Linked DNA regions of Homo sapiens: all the other regions are linked to region 1. Evidence: promoter capture Hi-C in 16 types of primary human blood cells and fetal thymus (Javierre and others, 2016). All regions are on one chromosome and are shown on one strand. Each heading gives the region's core, a stretch centred on a gene start or on the middle of the fragment in contact. The rest is flanking DNA. Distances are from core to core; before and after follow the strand shown. Region 1 holds the start of QRICH2 (glutamine rich 2). Region 2 overlaps PRCD (photoreceptor disc component). Region 3 overlaps RNF157 (ring finger protein 157). Region 4 overlaps UBE2O (ubiquitin conjugating enzyme E2 O).

Region 1 (7,102 bases), core at 3,143-5,642:
TATGATGATGCAAAACCATTGCAATTACGATGTAATGTATAGTATTCGATAAATTACTTGAGACACTTTATTTTAAAATAATCGCTTTTATTATAAAATGAAAGCCTTTGCCCTAGATGATTTTGCCACCTGCAGTCTAATGTAACTGTTCTGGGCATGTTTAAGGTAGGGCTAGGCCAAGTTAATGATGTTTAGTAGGTTAGGCGTATTAAATGCTTTTTTTTTTTTTTGAGATGGAATCTTGCTCTGTTGCCTAGGCTGGGAGTGCAGTGTGGCAATCTCGGCTCACTGCAACCTCTGCCTCCCGGGTTCAAACGATTCTCCTGTCTCAGTCTCCCAAGTAACTGGGATTACACGCGCCGGCCACCAGGCCTAATTTTTGTGTTTTTCTTAGAAACGGGGTTTCACCATGTTGGCCAGGCTGGTCTCAAACTCCTGACCTCAGGTGATCCACCTGCCTCGGCCTCCCAAAGTGCTAGGATTACAAGCATGAGCCACTGTGCCCGGCCTAAATGCATTTTCTACTTAAAATATTTTCAACTTATAATGATGCGTTTATCCAGACATAACCCTGTCATAAGTTGAGAGTTATGTTGAGGGTCTGTATATGTCTATTTGCATAACGGTTTGCTTGGGTACTTTAATTTGACACCCTAGGAGCATTTCTCTTGAGGCTGGAATTCTTCCCTTATGATCTGAGAGTTTTGCATAGCACTGGGGCTCACTGTGTTTCTGCATGGAGACCATGCCATTCCTAAGATTTTTGTCTTGTGTTCTGAGGCCATGTAACTTTTCCTTTGCATAAAATTAGTTAATTTTGGTTTATAAAAACTATACTCGGTGGAACAAGGTTTTGTAGTTTGGAACTTAGGCTGTGGGAACTCAATGTTAGATAAGCTTTTCTGTGTAACCAGCTTGGAGAACAGACTTCAGTAACAGCGTTTGTTTTCCATCACTGTGTGACTAGGTGGTGGTGACGAATACTGTCCCTCATGAGGTTCAGAAGCTGCAATGTCCCAAGATAAAGACTGTGGATATCAGTTTGATTCTTTCTGAAGCCATTCGGAGAATCCACAATGGAGAGTCCATGGCCTACCTTTTCCGAAACATCACTGTGGATGACTAGCTTTCACGAGGGTCTCGACCCTGGACCTCCTGAGGGAAACATGGAAAAAGCAGTGCCATGAGTGATACAGTGTTTCCTTGCAAGGGAGGACTCGAAACAGCCTGGAGTTAGATATCTTCTTTTGCCCGGATTGATGGGGAGGAGGGATTAAAAGAGTCAGGAAGAAGACAGAGCTAATGGATAAATATCATAACATGGCCTTACATGTCTGCTGTCATCAGCCCTGTTCCTTAAAAGTTCTAGCTGCTTTCTTAAAAATAATCTGAAAATCTTATTGATACTAAAGAGGAGTTAAAGGCACATAAAGTCTTAACTCTATAATGTTCATTTAGTTGTTTCAGCTCCAGGGAAATGGAGGTATTGATGTTGAACCTGGTTAGGGAAGCTGAGCGCCTGTGGCCCTATTACTATCCAGTTGGCCTCTCCCAAATCAACTTCAAGTCTTTTATAGAGAATCGTATTTTTCTTTCAGAAATTGTTATGCCTACAGCCATTGAAAAATGAAGCATTCATGTTGTTACATCTTCCAAGGATGTCAGATTAGAAAATAGCATCCCACCTCTGGGTATCTGAGTGGCTCTGAAGTTGCAAATAAAATAATTTGTTGTCTTGCTAGTCTTTTCATTAGACAGCAGAAGACCATGGATACAGAACAGCAGTCAGGTCTGTGGCTGGACACAAACACTTTCCCAGGTTCCACCCTCTTCCTAAGTGTTGAAGCTAAATCCTTGTTGAATACTGTATTTTAAATCTTTAAAAAAAAAAAAAAAAAGTCTAGGTGTGGTGGCTCACACCTATAATCTGAGTACTTTGGGAGGCTGAGGCAAGGAGGATTGCTTGAGCCCAGGAGTTTCAGACCAGCCTGGGAAACATGGCGAAACCCCCATGTCTACAAAAAATACAAAAATTAGCCAGGCATTGGTAGCATGTGCCTGTAGTTCCAGCTACCTTGGGAGGCTGAGGTGGGAGGATTGCCTGAGCCAAGGAGGTTGAAGCTGCAGTGAACTATGATTGTACCACTGCCATCCATCCTGGGTGACAGAGCAACACCCTGTCTCAAAAAAAAAAAACAGGCCAGGGATCGTGTCTTATGCCTGTAATCCCTGCACTTTGGGAGGCCGAGGCAGGTAGATCACCTGAGGTCAGGAGTTTGAGACCAGCCTGGCCAACATGGCAAAACCCCGTCTCTACTAAAAATACAAAAATTAGCCTAGCTAAGTTAAAAGCATAAAAAGACTACAAAGAGGCCAGGCATCATGGCTCACGCCTGTAATCCCAGCACTTTGGGAGGCCGAGGTGGGCAGATCACTTGAGGTCAGGAGTTTGAGACCAGCCTGGCCAATATGGTGAAACCCTGTCCCTACTAAAAATACAAAAATTAGCCGGGTGTTGGGGGAGGGGGTGCACGCCTGTAATCCCAGCTACTCGGGAGGCTGAGGCAGGAGAATTAATTGGTTGAACCCAAGAGGCAGAGATTGCAGTGAGCTGAGATTGTGCCACTGCACTCCAGCCCAAGTGACAGAGCAAGATTCCATCTCAAAAAAAAAAAAAGACTGCAAAGAACTAGTTATTTTGATAACCCCTTAAAGGCCTACTGTGTCCCAAGTTATTGGAATATAATGATGATCGAAAATCCTTCAATTAAATAAACAGTACCTCTCAGGCTGAAGTGAAAAATCTGAACTTGAACAGTAGTTAAAATAGTACAGTTATTCCTTACAATCCATGGGTGATTGGTTCCAGGACTCAACCTCCTGCCCATGGATGTGCAAGTCCCTGATAGAAAATGGTGTAGTATCTGCATATAAGCTATGCACATCCTGGATGACTTGTAATACCTACTGCAATATCCTGTGTAGATGGTGGTCATGCTGTATTATTTAGAGAATCATGACAGGAATCTGTACGTGTTCAGTCGTGGTTGGTTAAATCTGCAGATGCAGAGCTCACGGAGGAGGCTGGCCATGCATGGCACACATTCATAGGTTCTCTTTAAGTAGCCTTGCTGTGCTTCTGTTAGGAAGTTTTATTTATACGTTTTTGGGAAGAATCTTGTATGGGGAAGTCATGTCTCAATTGTTAACACCAGATTTGTCTCGTGCTGTTTAATCCTGCTTTGTAATGAGCTCAAGCACAGGCGCTTGACCAGGTGAGTGGTTTCTTTTCTTTTCTTTTTTTTTTTTTTTGAGACAGAGTCTTGCACTGTCGCCCAGGCTGGGGTGCAGTGGTGCGATCTTGGCTCACTGCAACCTCTGCCTCCCGGGTTGACGCGATTCTCCTGCCTCAGCCTCCCGAGTAGCTGGGATTACAGATGCGCGGTACCATGCCCGGCTAATTTTTTGTATTTTTAGCAGAGGGGTTTCACTATGTTGGCTAGGCTGGCCTTGAACCCCTTACCTCAGGTGATCCACCCGCCTCGGCCTCCCAAAGTGCTGGGATTACAGGTGTGAGCCACCAAGCCTGGCCGTTTTTTTGAGATCAATTAATTTATGGCAGGCTGGGCGCGGTGGCTTACACCTGTAATCCCAGCACTTTGGGAGGCCGAGGTGGGTCGATCACTTGAGGTCGGGAGTTCAAGACCAGCCTGGCCAACATAGTGAAACCCCGTCTCTGCTAAAAATACAAAAAATTAGCCGGGCATGGTACCACGCATCTGTAATCCCAGCTACTCGGGAGGCTGAGGCAGGAGAATCATGTCAACCCGGGAGGCAGAGGTTGCAGTGAGCCGAGATCGTGCCATTGCACTACAGCCTGGGCGACAGAGCAAGACTCCCTCTCAAAAGTAAAAAAAAAATTATGGCAGCACAGAAAAGGGACAATTAGCCACCAGTTAGTCATCTAGTGGCTAATTGGAACTGCCTGAATAGTGAGTGGGTTGTCTTTTCCAAGTTGCTTCACCTTTGATTGAACAAAATATGTGGACTGTCTGAGGGGACCAGGGCCCCAGGACTGCATCCCTTAGACATGGGGCCATAGACATGGGGCCACCACTCTGGAATGGACGCAGCTGATGACACAAAGCATGGTTGCCAGGAAACCCTCAAGTCTTTCCTTATGTGGCCCCGCCAAGAGTGAGTGAATCCTGGCCTTTCTAGGTTAAGGGGATGGATGGAGTCTAGCTGGATCTTAGGAGGCCTCCTCAGCCCGTTGCCAAGGCTCCCCTTGTGATCCTTGTGGTGGCCTTTACTTCCCCCCGCCCCCGTGGCTCGCAGGGAGGCGTGTTGTTACGTGGAATCTTCAGGGCACGCGGGGGCCCCCACGTTTCAAACGTCCGCCGGCGCGGGGACTGGGAGTCCAGGGCTCCAGCTCGGGGACCCGAGGCCAGCGACAGACAGCGGAGGGGTGGCCATCGCGGACCCCGCCGGGGAGCGGAGGCGCAGATTCCCTGGAGGCAGGAGCTCTGTCCAGTGACTCGGCCGGACCCGGGGCAGGGGCGCCCCGAGGACCTCGCAGGGCCCCCGAAAGGCCCCAAGGCGCGGCGTGCAGTGAGCGGGAAGTGGTTGGCCGGCGCCCCGCGGCGGCGCACAGCTCCTGACAGCCACGATGCCGCCCGCGACCACGGTCTCCCTCCGGGAGCTGGCGGACCTCTCCATCGGCACGCCAGAGGTGGGCGCCGTCAACTTCACGGCCCTGCACACGCTCATCGTGGCCATGCTCAAGAACCTCGACCTCCAAAATACCCGGATCGACTTCCAGCCCTCGTCGCCCGAGCCCAGCCGCTCGCTGCAGTCCGTCCGGAGCTCGTTCAGCATCCCGCACCTGCCCGCGCCCAAGGAGGTGCCCAAGGGGGCGCCCCGGGAGAAGCGCAGGGGCGTGGGCCAGGCGCCTTCGTCAGCGCTGGAGAGCCAAGTGAAGGACCTGGGCGGCCAGGTGGAGGACCTGAGCAAGCAGCTCAAGCGTGTGGACGGCCAGGTGCAGGGCATCGCCACGCACGTGCAGCACTTCTCCCAGGCCAGCGGGCTTGACCTGGCCGCGCTAGAGTGGCCGGAGGAGCAGGAGGTGGGCGTGCGGGCGTTCGATAGGGTGCGGACTGGGAGTATCATGAAGGACGCCGCCGAGGAGCTCAGCTTTGCCAGGGTGAGCACGCACACGGAGGCACGCGCAGGCCGTCTGCCTCCTCCAGGCCGCCCTCCAGGCCTAGCCGAGTCCCCACCACCCTGGAGGGGTGAGCGGTGGTGGGGACGGAGGGGATGGGGACCGAGGAGGTGCCAGACCTCAGTGCGACTGGCTAAATAGAGTGGCCCATGCTCTACCTTGCAGTCCACGGGGCTGCAAGACGTGAAAATCCTAAAAGAACGCCACCAAAAGGCCTAGGGCCTCCCCGAGCTGGAGGGGCCTGGGGACCCCACCTCCTAAGTGTAGTGGCCCCATCCCACCCCCTCCTTCCTAGCCCCTGTTTACGGGAGAGGTTCGCCCACCACTTATCAGACATCCAAGGACCCAGAGCTGGCTCAGAGTGGGGCCGGCAACTTCTCAGAAGATTCTTAGAGTGAATTCCCTTTTTAAAATGAATAAGGACATGAAGAGATACGTGTTGAGGACAAAGGCTCCCAGAGAAGGGGAGTCAGGATGGAGAGTTGGACCTCAGCTTCCTATGGCCATGACACAAGCCACAGCAGGCAGGGGACCGTTTCACTTGGACTTTTTTTTTTTTTGAGAAGGAGTCTCACTCTATCACCCAGGCTGAAATGCAGTGGTGCAGTCTCGGCTCACTGCAACTTCCGCCTCCCAGACTCAAGCGATTCTCCTGCCTCAGCCTCCCGAGTAGCTGGGATTATAGGCGCGCGCCACCCCGCCTGGCTAATATTTGTGTTTTTAGTAGAGAAGGAGTTTCACCATGTTGGCGGGGCTGGTCTCAAACTCCTGACCTCAAGTGATCTGCCCGCCTCGGCCTCCCAAAGTGCTGGGCATTACAGGCGTGAGCCACTGAGCCCTGCCTTCAACTGGACTTTTGTTTTCTTGGAGGGACAAATGCATGTAATCATTGAGTATAAGTATTGTCCAGTGAACAGCAGGAAGCAACGCAGGTCAGCGCCAGGAGGTAATAGACACGTGCATGTCTCAGAGCCACCTTAGGTTGGTTCTGAAAGAAAAAGCAGAAGCAACTAGGAAGGCAGCTGGGTGGGGAGGCCAAGAGGAGAGACAGGAGGGGAAAAAGAGGCCGGGAAGAGGCAGGAAGAAGAGGCCAAGCCCCAGCAGGGGAGCCCTGGCCGCTCATGCCCTCCTGCCATATCACCCCAGGTCTCGAGACCGCAGCACCAACTCACTTTTGCTCTGGGAAGCATGTCTGCTTTCCTTTTCAAACTTTAAAGTGTGGTGGGGGTTTTTTTTGTTTTAATTTTTTTGGGTTTTTTTTTTTTTTTTTTTTTTTTTGAGACACATTCTCACTCTGTCACCCAGGCTGGAGTGCAGTGGTGCATTGTCGGCTCACTGCAACTCCATCTCCTGGGTTCAAGGAATTCTCCTGCCTCGGCTTCCCGAGTAGCTAGGATTATAGGTGCACACCACCATGCCCAGCTAACTTTTGTACTTTTAGTAGAGATGGGGTTTTGCCGTGTTGGCCAGGCTGGTCTCGAACTCCTGACCTAAAGTGATCCTCCTGCCTCGGCTTCCCAAAGTGTTGGGATTACAGGCAAGAGCCACTGCGCCTGGCCTTTTGTTTTAATTTTTACGTAATCTTAGATTCTAGAAGTTTGCAAAAGTTATAAAAAGTAACTTGTTTTATTTTTGTTTATTAATATATTTTTTCTTAATCCCAAATATGATAGCACCTTATGTTGTAGCGATTTGCTTTGGTTCTTTTGAGGTGCTTTTCTCTTTAGATAGCACAGATGTTCAGCTACTGTTGAGGTACCTGGCACCCTTCCTTCCTTGTAAGGCAAGGTGGGCCTCATCCTACAGGCTTTCACAAGTGGGTTGGAGCAAACTGAATCCCAGGACCAAAGGGTCCCATCCCTGCAGCAGCACTTACTCCTG
Region 2 (7,102 bases), core at 2,400-4,899, 240 kb before region 1:
GCCTGGCCAACGTGGCGAAACCCCGTCTCTACTAAAAATACAAAAAATTAGCTGGGCGTGGTGGTGGGCATCTGTAATCCCAGCTACTCAGGAGGCTGAGGCAGGAGAATCACTTGAACCTGGGAGGCGAGGTTGCAATGAGCCGAGATCGCACCATTGCACTCCAGCCTAGGTGATGAGAGCAAAACTCCATCTCAAAAAAAAAAAAAGAACCTTCTAGGCTGGGCACGGTGGCTCACACCTGTAATCCCACCACTTTGGGAGGCCGAGGCGGGTGGATCACTTGAGGTCAGGAGTTCAAGACCAGCCTGGCCAATATGATGAAACCCCGTCTCTACTAAAAATACAAACATCAGCTGGGCGTGGTAGTGTAAGCTGGTAGTCCCTACTACTCAGGAGGCTGAGGCAGGAGAATTGCTTGAACTCAGGAGGTGGAGGTTGCAGTGAGCCAAGATCATGCCACTGCACTCCAGCCTGGGTGACAAAGTGAGACTCCATCTCAAAAAAAAGAAAAAAAAACAAACAAAAAAACAAAAACCTTCTTACCCTTGCAGTCAACCCCCACAATATCTAACCCCGGCCCCAGTCAACCACTGATGCCTTCTGTCACTATCAGTCGGTTCTGCCTGTTCTAGAATTCCGTGTACATGTCATCATCACACAGTAGGGGCTCTTTTGTGTCTGGCTTCTCTCAATTTACCCATGTCGTCGGCATCAGCAGTTCATTTCCTTTTCATTGCTGAGTATTATTCTATCTTTATATATCTCAGTGTGTTTATCTGTTCCCACGTCGAGGAATATTTGGGTTGTTTCCAGTTTGGAGCTGTTAGTAATAAAGCTGCCATGAACATCTTTGCAGTCTTTTTTGTGGATGTAAGTTTTCATTCCTCTGGGATAACTTTATAAGGAACCACCATGCTGGTTTCCCAAGTGGTTGTAACACTTCACCAGTCCCCAGCCGTGTATGACAGGGTGACATCTTGGACAGTACTTACTATGGTCGGCCTTCAGCTGTAACCACTCTGGTAGGCATGTAGTGGTATGTCATTGGGCTTTTGATTTGCATGTGGAGTATCTTTCTTCTTTCCCAAAGTGCTGGTATTACAGGCGTGAGCCACCGCGCCCAGCCGCATGTCGAACAACTTTCTATGTATTTTAGCTGTATGTTTATTTTTTGTTGTAGTGTCTATTAAAATCTTTCCCCACTTTTTTATTGGGCCATCTTATTATCGAATTGTAAAAGTTCTTTATGTATTCCGGATACAAGTCCTTTCTCAGATTTTTGTTTGGCAAATATTTACTCCTAGTCTTTCCAAGAGCAGAGGTTTAATTTTGATAAAGTCCAGTGTATTGATTTTTCTTTTCTGGTTAGTGCTTTTTGTATCCTGTTGAAAGGACCTTTCTTTCTCCATTGGATTGCCTTTCTGCATCTGTTTTTGGATTCCATTGATCTGTGTGTATATCCTTATGAATCTCACACTGTCTTGACCTCTGATTCTGTCTCCTCCTCACCTTAGCAAAGCCACTGTGGTCCGCTTGGGTTTCCCCTCCCCAAGGCACAGTCAGGGAACTGTCTCCAGGCAGAAGCTGAGGCAGTCATGGGGTCACTGTCCTGTGTGCTGCCTGTTGTCAAGTGTCTGCTGCTTATATCTTGCCCAGTTTTCTGGTTGTTTGTGGCAGAAGGTCTTAATCCGTTTCTGGATCCACAGTGCCTGGCACACAGCACTCCAGACACAGTTCATTACAGTTGCTTTCGATTGGGAAAGTCGGTGGGGCCCCCAGAGAGCTTCTGGTCCATCCCCTTCATTTTACTAAACTGTTCTTTTCCTGAGGAGATCATTAGTCCTCTGCGTCCTCACTCCAGCCCACCTGGGCTTGACAAATGTTTATCAAATGAGGAAACCGAGGTCCAGAGAACTAAAGGTCACAGGGACAGGCAGGGTTGGGCTGGCAGAACTAGGCCACCGAGGCTGGGGCCTTCCTATAGGACCAACCAGCAGGGCAGGGTCTGTCTCTCCTCGAGTGTCACTCCTGACACCTGATACAGGGTTTGTACATTGCAGGTTCCCAGGACACGCTTGTTAAATAAATGACCAAATGAACACATTAATTTATTTTAATGCTTAGTTCAAATGGCTTCTGCCTCTGCATATGATACTGTGTGTATTTGTGTATGTGTATGTCTCTCTGTGTGTATGTATGTTTATGTGTATCTGTGTGTGTGACTGTGTGTATGTGTATGCTATGTGTGTCTATAAGTGTATATGTCTGTATGTGTGTAAATGTGTATGTGTCGGTGTATATGTGTGTGTGTATGTGTGAATGTGTATGTCTGTGTATGCATGTGTATCTGTGATTATGTGTGTGTGTTTCTGTGTGTCTGTTTTATTTGTGTGTGTACATGTATGTCTGTGTGTATGTGTGTGAATGTTCGTATATGTGTATGTCTGTGTATGCATGTGTATGTGTGAATGTGTGTGTGAATGTGTATGTATGTGTATGTTTATGTGTATGTGTGTGTATATGTGTGTGAATATGTTTGTATATGTGTATGTGTGTGTGAATGTGTTATGTGTGTCTGTGTGTATGTGTATGTGTGTGAATATGTATATGTGTATGTCTGTGTGTGTGTGAATGTGTGTTGTGTGTGTGTGTGTGAATGTGTGTCTCTGTGAATGTGTGTATGTCTGTGTGTGTATTATATGTTTGTATAGGTATATGACTGTGTTTGTGTATGTGTGTGTGTGAATGTATGTGTCTCTGTGTGTGTGTGTCTGTGTGTGTGAATGTGGGTGTCTCTGTGTGTGAATATGTGTGTGTGTGTGTGTGTGAATGTGTGTGTGTTCACATAGGGACAGGATTGGCCTCTCCTCCCCAGGTGCACAGGCTGAGTCTGTTAGTAAATTTTTAAAAATTTTCTCAGTCCCCCACTACAGTCATCATCCCCACTAGGGGGCACATGTGTCACACAGAGAGGGTCTGTGCTCCTTAGGCACAAGGACTGGCTTCCCACTGTCAGCGGATCCCCCTGAAAGCCACCTCCTTGGTCTCCATGGCCTGCACCCTCCCCCTGCAAAAACAAATCAAAACAACCTTCCTCACCAGGCTCCGCATCTCCAGCTGGGCTGCTGGCTGCCATCCTGTCCTCTCCCCAGGGCCCTGCCCCTGGCTGAAGGAGGCAACAGAGTGGCAGTTGCAGTGACTGTGGGTGATGACCTCGCTGTCTGTCATCCCTGCCAGAGGCCACCACATCCTTCCTGAGGAAGACTGAGGGGTCCTAAAGGGGCAGCTCTCCTCTCCCCCTCACCTGGCAGGCAAGAACCAGCCTCTCAGGGCCTAGAGTCTGGTCTGCCCTTGAATGTGAGTTCCTGAAGACAGATTGGTGGCAATGACCCTGGCCAACACCAGCCCACTTGCAAAGGCAGGCTGGGCGGGACCACAGCTCCATTCCTTGTGCCTTGTAGACAGGTCACAATCAAAATTTCCTCACGGCCCCCAACTCGAGACTTGGGCCCCCTCTATCCCAAGCTTTGGTGTCAGATTTCCCAGGCTCAGGTCCTGGCTTCACTGCCAGCTATGAGTGACCTTGAGCAAGTTCTGTGAACCTCACTTTCCTTATTGGATAAATGATAACAGTTCCTGCCGCATAAATGAAACAGTGCGTAAAATACAGCAGCTGGCACAGTGCCTAGCACATAGTAAGCGCCCAATGCATGTTAGTGGTTATTAATCATACGATTAGTATCATCATTATGTTAACATAAGCTTCCGTGCGAACCAAACTGTTCTTCTGAGGTTCACAAAGAAGCATTATCTTCCTCTAGCTCTAGGTCTTGGGCTTCTTCCTAACAGTGAGGCCCCCCACAGAGAGGCTACGGGAGCCTGAGGAACCAGCAGGGTTTGCTCTCTCGCCATTGTGCCTGTCTCATAGTGGGCACTGTGCCCTACCCATCTAGTCTTGGCCCACCACCTGTACTGTTTGCCCTTGCCCAGGACTGCGCGCACACACACACACACACACACAAACCACACACACACACAACCGCACACTTGGAATGGGTGGGTACTCCCCAAGGTGACATCTACACCCCAGGGTGACAGTGGACAGCCACAGCTGCAGTGGCTACTTCCCTGGCTCCCACCACACCCCCACCGCCTCATTAGTTCCCTGGTCATGCTCCAGTCTCCAGGAGAGACTGGCAGCCGCTCTGAGCCTCAGTTGCAGGAGCAGCACCTCCCTGCTCCTGGTTGCTGCCCTCAGCCGCCCTGCAGCTCCAAGCAGCCTTTCCCCGTCACTCAGGCTCCCCCAGCAGAGATATTAGCATTCACACGGAGGAAGGTACCACAGCAGGGCAGCGCCTCCCGTCTTGTCAAGGAGCTGAGGTTCATTCCGGAAGCAGAGCCAGCTGGGAGTGGCGCTGTCCAGGTCGAGGTCACCACTGGAGGTTGGGACATGGTTCTGGGCACAGAGAGGCAGTGGTGGTCTTCTCCAGTACAGGCTTACAGGGGGCTTCCCCACCCCAGCAATGCCACCCTCTGCCATCCTCTGATCTGTTGCAGAACTACCGGTCGCCCAGCTCTGTGTATGTGGAGAGACGGCAGGAAGGACCAGAGAGTGAGGATGTGAGGAACTCTAGCCGTCCTGAATCTACCACTGTTCAGTAATTTACAGTTCAAACCGGATTGTGCCAGCTCACATATATGGGACACTTACCCAACATGCTAAGCATCTTCCACACGTTATCTAATCAACCCTTACAACTCTAAGAGACAGATACCAGTAGGATCTCCATCCTACAGCTAAAGAAACTGAGGCACAGAGGTGTTCAGAAACTTACCCAGGCCACAGAGGTAGGATGTGCTGGTGGAACAAGGTTCAAACCCAGGAGCTCTGACTCTGGACACCTTGCTCTTGGACTCTTGTTATTTCACAGTAGCCAGCACCCTAGACCAGAAGGGACCCCACCCTTTGGCTCAGCTCTCCCTCTCTAGCTGCCCTTTATCTGCCCTCTCCCAAGCCCCTGAGCACTCCTGCTCCCATTCCCAAGCAGCGGCTCTTTGCAAGGAAAGGGATGAAAAAGGACTCAGCCTCAGTGGGGACAGTGTCATAGTCAGGATTTAATTCCCCCATTTAAAGGTCCACCCTTGCCCTGAGCTTCACACTAAGCCCTGTGATGGGAGCCAGTGGGCCAAGGAAGGGGCACCCGGGTCCCAGGAGCCTTCTGTGGGGAGCTCTAGGCTGAGAGAGGTAACTTTCTGCAGCAGGAGCTGCAAATGTGCAGACTGCGCAGAGAGCCCAGGGGTGGGAGAGGCCCCGGGAATAAGAGGCGAGCGTGGGCTGGGTGTGCGGGGAAGGTGTAAACACAATCTGCTCCCACCAAAGCCAGCCTGCTCCCTGGGGGAGACAGCCCCCCCACCCGGCCCACATGGCACCCCAGCTGCCCAGGCAACCTCCAAGCCCAGGCAGCCACAGCCCCGCTGGCCGCCAGCAGCCCCTTCCTCTCTTTTTCCCGCCCTTCCTCTGGATGGATCCCTGGAGCAGCCACCACCTCCTGCGCAGGTTCTCGGAACAGTGGCGTGGAGGGGCGCTGCCCTGGGGAAGTGCGTCTGGGCCGTGAGCCAGCTCCATGACCTTGGCCTGACAATTCCTCAGACCAGTGGAAGGAGATGAGCAACTCGGAAATGGCAGCAAGGATGAGGTGACAGGAACATGGCAAATAGAGAATAAATGCAGATAGGATCGGGGAACACAGACTGGGTCCCGGGAACAGTGCCCTCTGGCCCTCAGCCTGACAGGCCTGTCACCAGGAAGGCCGATGCCTCCAAAGAGAGAGACAGGCTGACAGGAGCTGAGACAGGCGATCACGGGCTCACGGCCTGGGTCAGGCTGGCGCTCTGGCTTTGCCTCTGCAGGCTCCTTCCCTAGTGTGACTTTCCCCCTGCCTCCTGCCTGCCCTACTTTGAGAGGCTCCCACAGAACTGCCTTCGCACACACCCCAGCCAGGCTCCCCGAGGTACCAGCAGGCCCTCCCCAGCGGGGTGCACCTCCTCCCCCACCCTGAGCGCCTCCCCAGCGGTTCCCTCTGCTCTGCGGCATCCCTCACCCTTTCCCTTCCTTCCCTTCAGAGGCAGAGTGGCGGCTGAAGTGCTGCTGTCTAGAGAACTCCATCTTCTACTGCCTGGAAGTCAAGGGCACGGGCCAGCCAGGCAGAGACATCGCCGCTGGGCTGGGAGGGGGGCTGGCTGGGGAGGAGAGACGCGTGTGCACAGAGGCACGGGGGGTTTTTGAAGACTAATAGCTGTGAGACATCAGGAGCAGCTGCCTGCAGGGTCTGCTCCTGGATCTGGGAGCAGAAGCGGAAATCTGCTTTTATCTCTGCTCAGGATCATGCAGGATTGAAAAGAGAGAAATGGCAGAGCAGCTGGGGGCAAAGGAGGCAGCCGCCGGGACTGAGCATCAGCAAATTGATAAAAACAAGTGTCAGGCTTTTTCCTTCCCACACGCTACTGCCCGTTTGGAACACACGCGCTTGCACACATACAGAAAACACATTCGGAGGACAAGCTGTCCGTTGCTCCCATCCAGCTGCAGGCAGACATGTCACAGATCCAACTGGCATTTCTTATTGATAATTTCAGCAGAGCAGCCAGTGACAGGATGAGCTCTGGGAACTGGGGAAAGGCAAATGACACAAAAGCGAGTGCCACTGTGGCAAACCGACACCAGCACCTCGGACCACAAGTGGCGGCTTAACAGAATAGCTCCTGGGCTGACAGGCAGTTGGCCAGGCCAGCAAACCACCCCCAACCCCTGCAAACTGTTAGGTTCCAGGGGGAGGCCGCCTGCCATGGTGGGTAGGAGCGTGGGCTCTGCAGCTCCAGTGTGAGCCTGGGAGCCTCCACTTCCTAGCTAGGTGATGTTGGGCAAATTATTTAACCTGTCTCTGTGTTTCCCCATTTAGAAATTGTGGATAATAACATTACCAGGCTCTGTGGGTGACTGAAGATTAAATTACAGAATGAATGGAAGCCCTTGCTTAGTAAATGTGAGCTATCAGCCGTCCCTTGCTTCTGGGGTCTCCTCACTCCTTACTTATTCCTG
Region 3 (7,102 bases), core at 3,990-6,489, 150 kb after region 1:
TCCTTTATTTGTATAATGTCTGAACTCAAATTGGATTATATAGCAAATGCCTAGATTTTAATGCATGCCCTTCCATCCTTTTTCTAGTCTGTGCCTTCTTAATTGTCCATAATAGTATGCTGCAGTGCAAGTATTATTATTGTATTTGTGAAATTTTATGTTCCCTGTTGTATATAATGATGGGTGAATTAAATATTTGATTTTCTTTCTTCTCTCAAAGAGAAAACATAAGTAAATAAAAGCATCTTTTACTTATCCAGGCCTTTGATTTTTTTTCTCATTATGAATCGGTAGTCCTTGGTTACCAAAAGAGGTAAGATTGGAGGGAGTTCCCACTCTTGTCTCTCAGTAGAGACAGCCTGTCCTTGAACCTTTCTGTTTGCTGTTCAGGTAGACGGGGTCAGCTACCTCCTTCAGGAGATCTATGGAATTGAAAACAAGTACAACACACAAGATTCTAAGGTAAGTTTTACCCAAAATTCTGAATGTACTCTTTCCAGGAGGCCAAGTGAGAAATCGTAAGCCAGCGTCCAGAAATTTAGCGTGCCAAACTCTGAAATCAGTTAGGTCTTAGAAGGGTATTTTCTTGTTCCTCATTTCAGATCATTACGCTTTTACCACTTTGGAAATGAGAAAAGTAGGCTGGTTTGGCTTTGTTCTGCCACAGAGCTCTGTCCAACTCGGTTTCCACCAGGGCCCTTTCTTTGCTCCTTTTCCTTTATCTGTGTGATCCCCTAAGTCCCTTCAGCTGAGATTTGAGAGGCCCAGCTCTGGGCCTTATAGGAGGAGCTCGAGTGGTTAGTCTCGTCCTCTCAATTTTAGATAAACACTTCCCAGAAGAAGTGAAGCTAAGTGTGTGGACGCACTGGGAAAATGACAAAGTCCAATGTCAATGCAGATTTTGTTCGTAATTATTACTTATCTTAGCTCTTCAGCCACGCTGCCTTGTCAGTAAAGTATGGGACAGGAAGGGCTTTGTGCCATTGGCTACATTTCTTTCTCCTTGGCCAGGTGGCTGAAGACGAAGTGAGTGATAACAGTGCCGAGTGTGTGGTGTGTCTCTCGGATGTCCGGGACACCTTGATTCTGCCCTGTCGCCACCTCTGCCTCTGTAACACCTGTGCAGACACGCTGCGCTACCAGGCCAACAACTGCCCCATCTGCCGACTGCGTAAGCCCCAGAGCGGCAGGGGGACTGGTGGGTGGGAGAGGGGACAAGAGGACATTTACAAAACACTGAAGCATGTGCTGCTGCTGGATCTGACAAACGGATGCGCGCTGGGAGGGATCATGGTTTCTGTCTGGGCTCTTGTTCATTCTTAATCCTGTATCAGGATGTCCTGATTGCCTGTTTTCTCCTTCACAGCCTTCCGGGCACTGCTTCAGATCCGAGCCATGAGGAAAAAATTGGGCCCCTTGTCCCCAACCAGCTTTAACCCCATCATCTCATCCCAGACATCTGACTCTGAAGAGCATCCAGTAAGTTGGGCTCGGAACCACGGCCCCTCTGAAGCAAATGCCTCATTGGCTTTTTTAAACTTTTCATGCTTCTCTACGTGGCATTGCAGCAAGGAATTAGACCAGGGCATGCTGCAGTATTTAGCAAGCCGGCTGAGAGCATGCGTTAAAACCAACTTATTACTGTGGAAAATTGAATACTGAAAACCTCCCTTTTCCTCCTTGGGAACTTGGTGTCCAGTTAATGTTTACCATTCCTAGAGCCATCTGCTTGCAGTTTCACTCCAGTGAGGTTCAACTTGAACTCCCCCAGGCAGAAACAATGGGACGATTATTTTGGATTTAAATACAATTTATTATCTTTATTTGAATCCTCGAAGAAAGTAACTGTTTTTCTTTATCCTGTTTTGTGGCCTCAGTGCCTGAGATAAAGTAACTGACTTCAGTTTCCTAGTGTAAGTGCTGATATTAGGGTGAAACCTCAAAGCTTTGCAGTTAGAGAGCAGCAGATACTGTCTTTCTTTAGACTAACGCACTGCTGGGAGAGATTATTATTTAGTGAATGGTATTGGGATAATTAGTTAGCTATTTCAGGAGGAAAAATTAGTTTAGCACTTTACTCCTTACCAAATAAATTCCAGCTGGAGTAACTAGTTAACTATATTAAGAGCATCAAACCAAACAAACATTACAGCAAACCAAGCAAAACATTCAAAATCTAGAATAAATTATAGATGATTATTTAGTTGACTTTGGATTGGAAAGGATTCTCTAAGCTTGAAAGCAAGAACCATACATTTTACCACCTAAAAAGTTTAGCACTTCAGAGGTCTAAAAGGTAACCAAAATTAAAAGTTAGACAACAAATAGTGTTTTTTTAAAAACTATTTACAATGTGTGTATCAGAGGAAAAGCTAATGTCTTTGCCATAGTTCATATTGAATAAAACAGTAGATAAAAGGGCAAAGGGCATAAACAAAACACACTCAACATAGAATTTTTTAAAAAGTTCAACCACATTAAAAATCAATGATATGCAAATATGAGAATACCATTTTCCAACTTTCAAATTTTAAAAACTTTTCTTTTTAGCGATTCTCCCTGCTTTCGGGGAAGCAGTCAGAATAGGTCTTCTGTATTACTTATAGGAGTGTAACTAGAAAAGGCACTGAAAAAAAAAACAGCAGAAAACAGCAGTATATATCAAGGCCTTAAAAACATTTATACCTCATCATCTAAGAGCTAATAATTTAATAACAAGAACATAATTTGAAAAAAAGGCATTCAAGGATGTTCATCAAAACTTGTTTACAATAGGATGTGTTAGACACAACTAGATTCCCAGCACTAGGAGAATAGTTAGAAAACTTAGGGGATCTATGAGAAGGGGACATATATAAAGAGGCTTCAGAAACAAAGGAAAATATTTATGTTCTGGCCAGGCATGGTGGCTTACATCTGTAATCCTAGCACTTTGGGAGGCCATGGTGGGAGGATCAATTGAGACCAGGAGCTCAAGACCAGCCTGGGCAACATAGTGAGATCCCATCTCTATTTTTTTAAAGAGGAAAGTATAATAAAATAAGCAGAATATAAAATTGTTATTTACAGATTGATCAAAACTGTGTAAATAGTACACAGAAAAAAAATGGGAAGAAGAGACACCAGAATGCTAACAAAAGTAACTTTGGGTGATTTGATTACTGGTGATTTTTTTTCCTTACTTTTACTTTTATGTATTTTCCAAATTTCCATTATAATCAGAAAAAAAATAGAGATTATTAAGAAAAAGCTTACCAATAAGCAGGATCTACAGTGTGTGATTCTTTGATATTTTATCTCTGCCTCTAGTACAGTTGTTCTTACCAGACCCCCCCAAGAACAGATATAAAACATTTTTTTCAGTGTAGAGAAGTAGCATGATCACGTCATAAAACAAAAAGGACCTAATTAATTTTTCAACCTGTCTCTGATTCCCCTAGTCCTCAGAGAATATTCCACCAGGCTATGAAGTAGTATCTCTTCTGGAGGCCCTCAACGGGCCCCTCACCCCGTCCCCAGCAGTTCCTCCACTTCACGTGCTTGGAGATGGCCACCTCTCAGGAATGCTCCCTTCATATGGCAGTGATGGCCACCTGCCCCCCGTCAGGACGATCTCGCCTCTTGACCGCCTGTCTGACAGCAGCAGTCAGGGACTCAAACTCAAAAAGAGTCTCTCCAAGTGAGTAGCCAGTGCTCCACACTGTTGCCCCCGGAATCCTTGATGAAATGCTTCATCCCTCCTTGGTGCTGGCCCACATCCTGGGGACTTAGGGCAGAGTAACCCTCTGGGCTGTTCCCAGAGCTGCTTGCGTGAAGGTTATCCCATCCATTAAGAGATGAAAATAAGATGGTATGTAGGTACTTAAGAAAACTCTGATGAGACAAATCTCTTATGTATTCTTTTTTTCTTTCAAGGATAGGGGATGGGATATAGGGAAGAGGATGTTGAACACTGTGGATAGGGCCTTCTAGGCCCCTGGGAGCATTGCTTAGTCCGAAGACTGAAGGAACCTTGTGATCCGTATCTCTTAAACATCTAAATCCAGCTAGGCACAAATCATGACAAGGTTTCTGTGGCAGAGTAAAGGGGAGGGTATTTTACAGATGAAAATATTGAGACCCTGTAAATGGCAGTGGTTTTTCCCAAGTTTAGATAGCAAGTCATCAGAGGAGCTAAAAGTAAAACTTAGCGCTTCTGACACCCAAAAGAGGTCTCCATCCCTCTCTGGTTCTATTTCCCTAGTCCTACTTAAGATTTGGGTTTCGAGCCAGGCAAGTTAGCCCAGACCTACTCGGCTACTCAGGAGGCTGTACTCCTCCTCTGTTAAAGCGTCAACAAGAGGATCGCTGAAGCCCAGGAGTCCCAGCCCAGCCTGGGAAACATAATGAGATGCTGTCTCAAAAAATAAACAAGCAAAAAATATTTGGGTTTTCCCCTCAGCTCCCCTTGCAGTAAGTTCTGTTCTTTAAATGGACGTTGGATATAGCTGCTTTTCCACTGGACTCCTACAGATCCACTTCCCAAAACTCTTCCGTGCTGCATGAAGAGGAAGATGAGCATTCCTGCAGCGAGTCGGAGACACAGCTCTCTCAGAGACCGTCGGTTCAGCATCTCGGAGAGGTAATTGACATTCCTCTCCTCTTCTTGGGTGTTGTACTCCAGGGACTTCCCTCCTACCTGCATGCCTCATCAGGTCCCTCTGCTCTCATTCACTCATCAAACACCTTGTCAGCACCCTCTGAGGCAGTGGCAAAGGTTTCACTGGATTCATGCATTCAACAGTGTATGCAGCCTGTATTATTTGCCAGGCACTGTGCTATATGCTGAGGATAGTAGCTGGGACACTACAAAAGTCCCTGCCCTTGTAGCATTTATATTCTTGCTATCTGGGGTGGGGGGCACAAAAGACAATAGGTAAAAAAATACATGTGTGCCTGATGGTGCTGTGGATCAGCATGTGTGACATGTGGGAAGGGAGTGTCACGGCTGGAAGTGGGGGCTGCCATTCTTAAAAAGCGGTCCAGGAGCCAAGACCAAGGGAAGTGGTAGAGCTAGCTATGCAGATATACGAGGAGAGAGGGCCCTAGGTCTGGGAACAGCAAGGAGAAAGTCCTGGGGGTAAGTGGGGGGTGTCGGGAGGCCCATGTGGAAGAATGGAAGAGAAGGCTGGAATTTTCTACTCTGTGCGTCCCACAGAGACCTCACTTAACAAAGGTTTATGCAGCTTCTCTCTGTAGGGCACTGAGCTAGATACAGCAGGGCACAGGAAGGTAAATAAAGTGGTCCCTGCCCTTAGGTGCTCAGGTCTGGCTGGGACAGGACATATACATGGGAATAGCATGTGCCTGGCACGTTGTTGTTGCTCAGTAAGTATTTGTTCAATGACTAAGTAAATTTTATAAAAAAGAAGTATGCCCAAAACAGAGACGATAAATTGCTGTGTCAGAGATGGAAAAGATCATTGTAAGTGGAGGAAATCAGAAAATGTGTTATGGAGGAATAGCATTTTAGCTAAACCTGGAAGTTTTTTAGACATGGAGAAAGAGGTGAGAGAAACATCCATGTGGAGAAGACGATGCATGCAAAGGCACAGAGCAGGAAGTCGGGGCTCGGAGCAAGCCAGGGGCACAGTGAGTGCTTCACACCCCAAAGGCCCACCCGACCGCAGTGTGCAGCCTGGACTAGACGGGAGACAGACCCAGCCAGGAGAGGGTTTCAGTAGCCCAGGCAAGAAGGACTGTGTGACTGGCCGGGCGCGGAGGCTCACGCCTGGAATCCCGGCACTTTGGGAGGCCGAGGCGGGCGGATCACGAGGTCAGGAGATCGAGACCATCCTGGCTAACATGGTGAAACCCCGTCTCTACTAAAAATACAAAAAATTAGCCAGGTGTGGTGGCATGCACCTGTAGTCCCAGCTACTCGGGAGGCTGAGGCAGGAGAATCGCTTGAACCCAGGAGGCAGGGGTTGCAGTGAGCCAAGACCGCACCACTGCACTCCAGCCTGGGCTGGGCAACAGAGCGAGACTCCATCTCAAAAAAAAAAAGTGAAAAAAAAAAGAAGGACTGCGTGAACTAAGACAAAAGAGGAGCGCCTGGAGGGAAGGGAAGGGATTATGGAGATACAGTTCGTAGAACTTTGCATCCATCTTGGACGGGTGAGGCTGTGCACCCAGATGCCTGACAGGTCGGGGCTGGGATCGGAGGTGGGGGTGTGGGAGGAGCAGCAGGCTGGGGAGCAAGGTGGTGTTTGTATCAGAAAGCAGCTGGGCAGGAATTAACTGGGGTCCACGTGGAGATACCCTGCAGGCAGGAAGTCCTCTGCTGGCTTTGTATGCTTTTGCCGCAGAAGGAAAGCTGATCATAATCCTGGGGAAACCTGGGGTGTCCCCATGTCACAGCTGCAGGGTGACCTGTGTCACCCGAGCTGCAGTCTTTGTATGGCCGCAGCAGATGCTGTGCCCTGGGCAGGAGGTGTTGACTGAAGTGTGCGCCTCCCCTGGGAGGCAGTCATTCCAGGCTTGGGCTGAAGTGAGGACGGAAGAGAGAAGCTGCGGCCTCTGCATGCCACTCAGTCCCTCCCAGTGTCGCCTTTCCTCCTCATCTCTACCCAGACCTCCGCCCTGACCCCTTCCTCCAGCACAGGTGACTGGCGCTTGCTCCATGTCCTGTTGTGTCCCCCCACAACCCCCAGGAATGTGGTGTGACTCCAGAAAGTGAGAATCTCACCTTGTCGTCATCTGGAGCTATTGACCAGTCGTCTTGCACAGGGACGCCTCTGTCATCCACTATTTCCTCCCCAGAAGGTACATAAGGAGCGGGGAGTGGCTGCATGTCCTTCCCCCTTACCCAGCCCACAGTGTCCTGGTGCTTCTTCCGGGAAGGGACATGGGAGTGGCAAGCTAATACCTGTACTGCATGACAAGTAGGCCCTGGCTTGAGAGGGAAGAGGACTTGCTTTCCTACCATGGGATAGCAGGCTTGCCTGTAGCTAGTGGGGTGTTAATTCTCTCAGCCCCAGTCCTCCTGTAATGAGGTTTCCTTTAGCATTATGACAGGGAAAAGCAAATGTCTTGTCCCCAAGGCTGAGTTCTGAGCTCTAAA
Region 4 (7,102 bases), core at 3,071-5,570, 130 kb before region 1:
CCAGCCAATCTGACTGCTTTTCCCCAACTCAATTGTGCCGTTCCCTTCCTCTCATGCCCCATGGCACACCCACATTCTCTCCTGGATGGGAAGCTCCTTGAGAAACAGAGACAGCAAATCCTAAAGCTTGTGTGCTATCACGCACATGCAGACTCTTGGGAAACATCTTCATGAATGACCAGTTTGCTCCCTCCCACTTACTACAAATAGTATTCTTAGTCTTCTTCCAGATGCCCTGTGGTCTGTGCTGGAGCTGTATGGGCCCCTTACTAGACCACTCTGTCTCCCACCCCCCGTACTAGGTGTGTTGACCATGTACAGTAATTTATTGCCCAAGTTGGGTTCTTTTGAGAGTACTATGAATAATTACTCCAGGACTGGGACGTATGGGCATCCTAATACTAGGAAGAGCAGATTAATCAGAATACACCATATTGTAGTTACTACTTTGGCAACTTCCGTCGCGGGCTCCCCAGGCAGACTACGTGCATTGTGGACTAGGCTAGAGCTAGCTAGAGCTGGTGTCACCTGTGGTCGAAATGAAGCTGCTTCTGGCTGCATTTCCCCTGTAAGAACCCCGCCTAAAGCACTTGACAAATGGCAGATTCCACACACGTGGGTTTCCTGAATGGTTATCAGCACCCAGTCCTCACCTTAGGAGGATGGCTAAGTACGAACGAGGCTCTCTATTGGAAAAAGAATGCCCCACCCGACTGCAAATGAATCAGGAACGCAGCTTAGGCTATGCACTCTGCCTGCACCAAGACCCTTGGGGGCGGGGCCTGGAGTTGCAGTGGCTATGCCAGGCCTATTACTTTGAAGGAGTCAGGAACCATCTATTGAAAGTAGATATAACCACCCCTGTTTATCAGTGGAGGGGGAGGGGGAAGTGAAGAGAGCATGAATAAATGGATTCTAATCCAGCACTTTTCCAAGGTGAATGCCACATGCCATCACCTAGGGTCTCCTAATGCAAATTGTCCTAATTCCATTGGGCTGAAGAATCTGCGTGTCTAACAAACTCCCAGTGACATTGATGCTGCTGGCTGGGACTGTCTTTTGAATTGCACTTATATGGGCCCTTCCAAACCTCGTTGATGTCAATGGGTTCAGTTTTAGTACGTCTTTGGTTCGAGGCTTTTTCTCTCCCCTCTGCTTATTCTTCTAGTGCCAGTGTTAATGAACCGGGAATTGTCCAAAGGTGGGCTGCAGGAGGGGCAGGAAAGGGATGAGGCGGACTCATCATCCGCCAGTGCTTTAGTGTTAGAAAGGCTTGCCTCTTTCTTCCTCCCCATTGCTTGCTGGTGGTTATTATTAATGCACTGCTGTTGCTAAGAAGTTTCATTTGATTTCATTTCATTTTAGGATGTAAATATGGTAGTTGTTTTGAGTATAACACACCCAATCCAAGAGGAGAATGATTATTCAGCATTTTAATGAAATTGCTGTCTTTTATCCAGCCAGTGTCAATGGATTCCTGCTGTGAGCCAGGCATGTTAACTCACACTTTACCTGTGTCATCTCACTTCCCTTAAAGTGGCCAGTGCCCCATTTTAGAAAAGGAAAGACTGAAACCCAGAGAAAGCTTATAACTCACCAAGGCCACATAGCAAGTGGGAGGCCAACCCAAATTCAAACTTAGGCCAGTTTGTGCTGCCCGAATGCAGGTTCTCTTCACTGACTACACGGGTGCCCCCTGCACTGTGCTGGGTGCTGTGGGGAGAGAGATACCCCCACACAGGCCCTGCCCTCTAGATAAGGGGCCAGCCAAACTTTCTGTAAAGGGCCAGATGATAAATGTCCTAGTGTTGCAGGCTATACTGTCTCCTTCACAACAACTCAGCTTTGCCATTATAGCACAAAAGCATTCAGAGGCAGTAAGCAAATGAATGGGCATGGTCATGTTCCAATAAAATTTTAAGAAACAGGCAGTAGGCTGGACATGACCTGCAGGCTGTAGTTTTCCCACCTCTGCTCTGGAAGGATCCTGAAAAATAGAGATACAATGTGAGCCACAGCTGAAAAAAGTAAATAGAGGCCAGGCATGGTGGCTCATGGCTATAATCCCAACACTTTGGGAGGCCAAGCCAGGCGGATCACTTGAGGCCAGGAGTTCGAGACCAGCCTGGGCAACATGATGAAACCCCATCTCTTCAAAAAGTACAGAAATCATCTTAGCGTGGCAGCTTACGCCTGTAGTCCCAACTACTCAGTAGGCTGAGGTGAGAGGATCGCTTGAGTCCTGGCGGTCGAGGTGGCAATGGGCCGTGATCGTGCGACCCATTGCCCTTAAGCCTAGGCAACAGAGCAAGACCCTGTCTCAAAGTAAAAAAAACAAAGAGATGAAATTAATTTTAATATATTTTACTTAACCCAATGTATTCAAAATATTATATCAACATATAACTCATATGATAAGTACTAATGAGAGACTGTGCGTTCTTTTTACCATAGTGGCTACTGGATTGGGTAGCACTGCTTCAGAGACTTAGATAGGAGAGAGAACCATCGCTGTGATCTCCTACTCAGCTTTTTTCCCTCATAGCACCTGGCATTACCTGAGATTATACTACTTCATGTCCTGTTTACTGTCCCCAGCCGGAAGGTAAGAGAAGCACAGAAGCATCTCTGTCACTGCTATATCCTCAGTGACTGGCCCAAAGTAGGTGCTAGGAGAGATTTGTTTAGTGAGCACTTGGGAAATGGCAGATTGCACACATGCGAATGAGTGGAATTAGTGGGTGAATGACTGATGCACATAAGGGAGCGAGAGCCTAGTTCCACCTGCAGGACACAGTTGAGATGCTGAAGGATGTGGTGGGGAGCATTAGGAGATGCTGTCATGGAGGTGCCTTTTGAGTTCACTCTTGAAAGATAAGAGCTTGGAATAGCAGCAGTGGAGGGCAGGGCGTCCTGGGCGGGAAGTCCAGTGCGCATAAAGGCAAGAGAGGCAGGAAGTTCATTTCAGTGGTTTCAGACTTAGGCCTCAGAACTCCTTTAACTTAAAAATTATTGAGGACCACAATAATTTTTTAGCTTTGTGAGCTTTTATTTGTATGGGTTGTTTCTATTAACATCTACCATTTAAGAAAACAAACTTAAAAACCAAGAATGCCTGGGCATACATTCTATTGGCCATCAGAGCAGTGACGTCATCACACATCATGTAGCCTCTGGAAAATTCCACTGCAGACTTTGGAGAGGATGAGAGGAAAAAAGGCAAATAACGTCTTGGTCTTGTTATAGAAAATTTTTGACTTTGGACCTCCTGAAAGGGTTTCAGGGATCCCTGGGCCATATTTTGAGGACCACTGAGCTAGAGGTGGGGTGGAAGAAGTCAGGTGAGAGAGTGCTGGCAGGCGAGGCTGCACAGGACTGTAAATAACGATAACAACAAAGGTTTGTTGGCACCTGCCGCGTTCTAGGCACAGTCACTGGAGAACCCCGTGAAGTAGGTGTTCTTACTTCACAGAGGAGGAGAGGTTAAGGCAGTGAGCAGAAAGGCTTGGGCTAAAGCCAGGCAAGCGCCTCCAAACCACGCCGTCAGCTGCCCCTGGAAAGGCCACTGGTGTCATGCTTGCTGTGTGTGTGCAGGTCTTTGGATGACTGACTCAGGAGTTGGGATTTGTTTTTTACATAAAGAGGACTTACATCAGAGTTTACAATGGGTGATTTGGCGGCAGTTTACAAGGTGGAATGTGGGGAGCTAGGAAGCCTGGAGGCCAGTTAGGAGGATTTTATGGGGCAGATGAGTTGTGTCCTCTGTGCCCTCGGTGTGCATGGCGTCACCTATGCATGCATGGCGTGGAGTGCTAGAGGTGCTGACTTCTCACACAAAATGACCCGGAAGTGTGAACAAACATCTTCATTCCGTATTCAGTGGAAGAAGCAGTGATCTGTTCCAGTGCAAGAGGAAACACTGGTTATGTTGGTCTTACTGATGGATTTAAGGGATTTTTCAAGGATAATTTTAATGATGTTCAATTTGACTTAGTACCTAACCCCCCAGTAAAATCTGAAATCTATCGAACCTAAGAGAACAGTAATAAAGCTTTCAATTATTAGAGTAGTGAGGTAGAGAGAAAGGTGAGGTGGTTGGAGAAGGTTTCTCAGATGGGGCGCAAAGGTGTGAAGGACGTTTGAGGAATAACAGGTAAAGCATGTGTTTCACAGCCTTGCACGTACAGCTGAGCCGGGGTGTAGTGGGGGAGGTGGGAGACAGAGCAGGAGTAGGGACATTAGTGTGCCAGGGCTTTGAGGTGATCAGAAGAGCGACGAGGAGCCTTTAAGTTTTTCTTTTTTAATTGTAGTAAAATATGCATAACAAAATTTACCATTTTAACCATTTTTAAATAAACAGTTCAGTGCCATTAAGTACATTCCCATTGTTGTGCAACCATCCCCACCATCCACCCCCAGAACTTTTCATCATTCCCCACTGAAACTCTGTCTCAATTAAATAATAACTCCTCAAACCATTAAGTTTTATAGCTTTTAGAAAAACCTTTTCTAAAAGCAGTGGATGTAGACATGTGGTCACCTACCAAAAGGCAGTAAGAAGAGGGAAGCGTGGCAGAGACTCAAGCTTCTCATGAGCATGGCCAGGTGGCTGGTCCTGCCGGTAATAGCAGTGTGGACAGAGGAGTGGGGAGGGAGATTCCGTTTTGAACACATTGCAAATTAGATGCCTGGAGGCATCCAGGCAACGAGAGACACCTCCCTTCGAAGCGTGTATTTAGCCTGTCCCCCATCTTCCTTTAATTCTTATTGCTGTCCTATTTCATAACCTCATAATTGCAGTTTCTAAACAAACATTTTTTAGATTTATAGAACAGTTTCAAAGATCATACAGAAAGTCCTCGTATCCCCTTCACCCAGTTTTCCCTAATGTTCACATCTTACATATCATGATATATATTTGTCGAAAGTAAAAAAATTGACATTGAGCCAGGCACAGTGGCACGTGCCTGTAATCCAAGCTACTCAGGAGGTTGAGGCCAGAGGGAGGATCGCTTGGGTCCAGGAGTTCAAGGCCAGCCTGGGCATTGTGGTGAGACTGCATCTCGCAAAAAAGATATTAACATCAGCCACATACTGTTATCTAAACCATACACTTTTATTTGGATTAGTTTTCTTTTCCAGGATCCAATCCAGGATACTACATTGCATTTAACATAATTGCCTTTTTTTTTCTTTTTCTTTTTTTTTTTTTTTGAGATGGAATCTCGCTCTGTCGCCCAGGCTGGAGTGCAGTGGCATGATCTTGGCTCACTGCAAGCTCCGCCTCCCAGGTTCATGCCATTCTCCTGCCTCAGGCTCCTGAGTAGCTGGGACTACAGGTGCCCGCCACCACGCCCGGCTAATTTTGTGTATTTTTAGTAGAGACGGGGTTTCACCGTGTTAGCCAGGATGGTCTCGATCTCCTGACCTCGTGATCCGCCTGCCTTGGCCTCCCAAAGTGCTGGGATTACCGGAGTGAGCCACTGTGCCCTGCCACCTTTTTTTTTTTTTTTTAAAGATGGAGTCTCACTTTGTTGCCCAGGCTGGAGTACAGTGGTGGGATCTCAGCTCACTGCAACCTCTACCTCCTAGGTTCAGGCGATTCTCCTGCCTCAGCCTCCTGAGCAGCTAGGATTATGGGTGCCCACCACCATGCCAGCTAATTGTTTTGTTGTTGTTGTTTGTTTTGCATTTTTAGTAGAAATGGTTTCAACATGTTGGCCAGGCTGGTCTGGAACTGCTGACCTCAAGTGATCTGCCCACCTTGACCTCTCAAAGGCATGAGCCACTGCACCCAGCCTAGCATAATTGCCTTTTAAATGTTGAAATAAATGCTCCTCGTTGATCTTTCACTAATCCCCATTTTATACTCTGTCCTAAGAGGCGTTACCTTTTTTGAATTTTGTTCAGAAGGAGGGTGCTAGCCAGTGGCTTTTGATGTCAGGGCAAGGGGTCAAGTAGGATGCTTTGTAAAGAGAGGCAGTTTGGGAGTTGTGAGGAACCTTGGATAGCACTTTTGAGTAGAGAGGTGGTGGCTGGACACCAGAGCAGCAGCAGGCGAGGGACAGCGTGCAGGGCAGGGGCCTGGAGGCATCGTCTAGGCTCTCGGGGATTCAGGGTCCAGCAAGGAGGGAAAGTCCCAGGTGTAATAGTCTGTTCTTCAGTCTCTGACAATCCAGCACCGAAGAAAAATTGCTGGAGTCATCCTCTTATTTGCCTTAGATTTATAGCTTTATTCCTGATTGGTCTATTAAGTTATTTATATACTTAATACAAAAGTGCAAGGACATAGGAAAGGTGGGTAAAAAAAAAGTCACCCATAATTCTACCACTCGGGGATAACTTCTCTTTATTATTTCAGTGGATGGCTGTTCTAGTCTTTTATTTGTTAATTAATTAATAAATTAATTAATTTTTGAGATGGAGTTTGCTCTTGTTGCCCAGGCTGGAGTGCAATGGTGCTATCTCGGCTCACTGTAACCTCCGCCTCCCGGGTTCAAGCAATTCTCCTGCCTCAGCCTCCTGAGTAGCTGGGATTACAGGTGCACACCACCATGCCTGGCTAATGTTTTGTATTTTAGTAGAGACAGGCTTTCGCCATGTTGCCCAGGCTAGTCTCATACTCCTGAGCTCAGGTGATCCGCCCGTCTCAGCCTCCCAAAGTGCTAGGATTACAGGCGTGAGCCACCGCACGGGGCCTAACGATGATGAGAATTTGATGTGACATCTGCAGGATCCCCAGCTAGTCAGCAGCATCTAGAGGGCTAGAACTCTGGCCAGCTGACTGGGCCTTTTGCTAACTGTTTTCTGTCCCCTCTGTGCCGGGGTGTCACTGAGCTTTGCGGGACAGGCTGGTCTGTCGTGCCTTCAGCTCAGGGAATGTGGCTCCCGAGCATAGGGCTGGACTGAGAGGCGTTAGGTGAGCCAGAGAAGGCCTCAGACACAGGGCTTAGAGAGGGCATGTAGACCTGTGATTGCTTAGTGTCCATGACTAGAAAAGACAGAATCTTGTAGTTACTGGGGATTGCACGAGATCACCTTCGAGAGGGCTCAGCACAGCACCTGACCAGTGGTCACTGCTGCTGGGGGATAATTTAGCTCT

What was found. The method cuts DNA at HindIII sites, captures the fragments that hold promoters and counts their contacts. A CHiCAGO score of 5 or more calls a contact.
Region 2: a fragment that was not itself captured here is called in contact with the fragment with the promoter of QRICH2 in region 1 in 3 of 17 cell types (naive B cells, erythroblasts and total B cells); the score reaches 8.4 in naive B cells.
Region 3: a contact is called between a fragment that was not itself captured here and the fragment with the promoter of QRICH2 in region 1, in 2 of 17 cell types (M1 macrophages and M0 macrophages). The highest score is 8.6, in M1 macrophages.
Region 4: a contact is called between a fragment that was not itself captured here and the fragment with the promoter of QRICH2 in region 1, in 4 of 17 cell types (M1 macrophages, M2 macrophages, M0 macrophages and 1 more). The highest score is 8.0, in M1 macrophages.

What each region holds. Positions count from the first base shown.
Region 1 is chr17:76,305,566-76,312,667 of GRCh38, reverse strand. QRICH2 (glutamine rich 2) reads left to right here and starts at 4,392. Exons shown (of 19, transcript NM_001388453.1): 1 at 4,392-5,203. The coding sequence starts at 4,670. It overlaps PRPSAP1 (phosphoribosyl pyrophosphate synthetase associated protein 1), which reads left to right. Exons shown (of 10, transcript NM_002766.3): 10 at 968-3,190. The coding sequence ends at 1,126. The HindIII fragment of the contact is 8,448 bases long and covers 900-7,102 here.
Region 2 is chr17:76,543,373-76,550,474 of GRCh38, reverse strand. It overlaps PRCD (photoreceptor disc component), which reads right to left. Exons shown (of 5, transcript NM_001077620.3): 5 at 5,099-6,672. It also overlaps a transcript of CYGB not described here. Among named protein-coding and RNA genes, the nearest start is that of PRCD, 6.9 kb to the right of the region's middle. RefSeq lists an enhancer at 2,662-3,165. The HindIII fragment of the contact is 237 bases long and covers 3,531-3,767 here.
Region 3 is chr17:76,155,912-76,163,013 of GRCh38, reverse strand. It overlaps RNF157 (ring finger protein 157), which reads left to right. Exons shown (of 19, transcript NM_052916.3): 9 at 391-462; 10 at 1,012-1,171; 11 at 1,367-1,479; 12 at 3,441-3,679; 13 at 4,513-4,621; 14 at 6,693-6,804. Among named protein-coding and RNA genes, the nearest start is that of FOXJ1, 18 kb to the right of the region's middle. The HindIII fragment of the contact is 3,973 bases long and covers 3,253-7,102 here.
Region 4 is chr17:76,435,562-76,442,663 of GRCh38, reverse strand. All of the region lies in intron 1 of UBE2O (ubiquitin conjugating enzyme E2 O), which reads left to right. Among named protein-coding and RNA genes, the nearest start is that of UBE2O, 14 kb to the left of the region's middle. RefSeq lists enhancers at 1,096-1,613, 5,436-5,937. The HindIII fragment of the contact is 534 bases long and covers 4,054-4,587 here.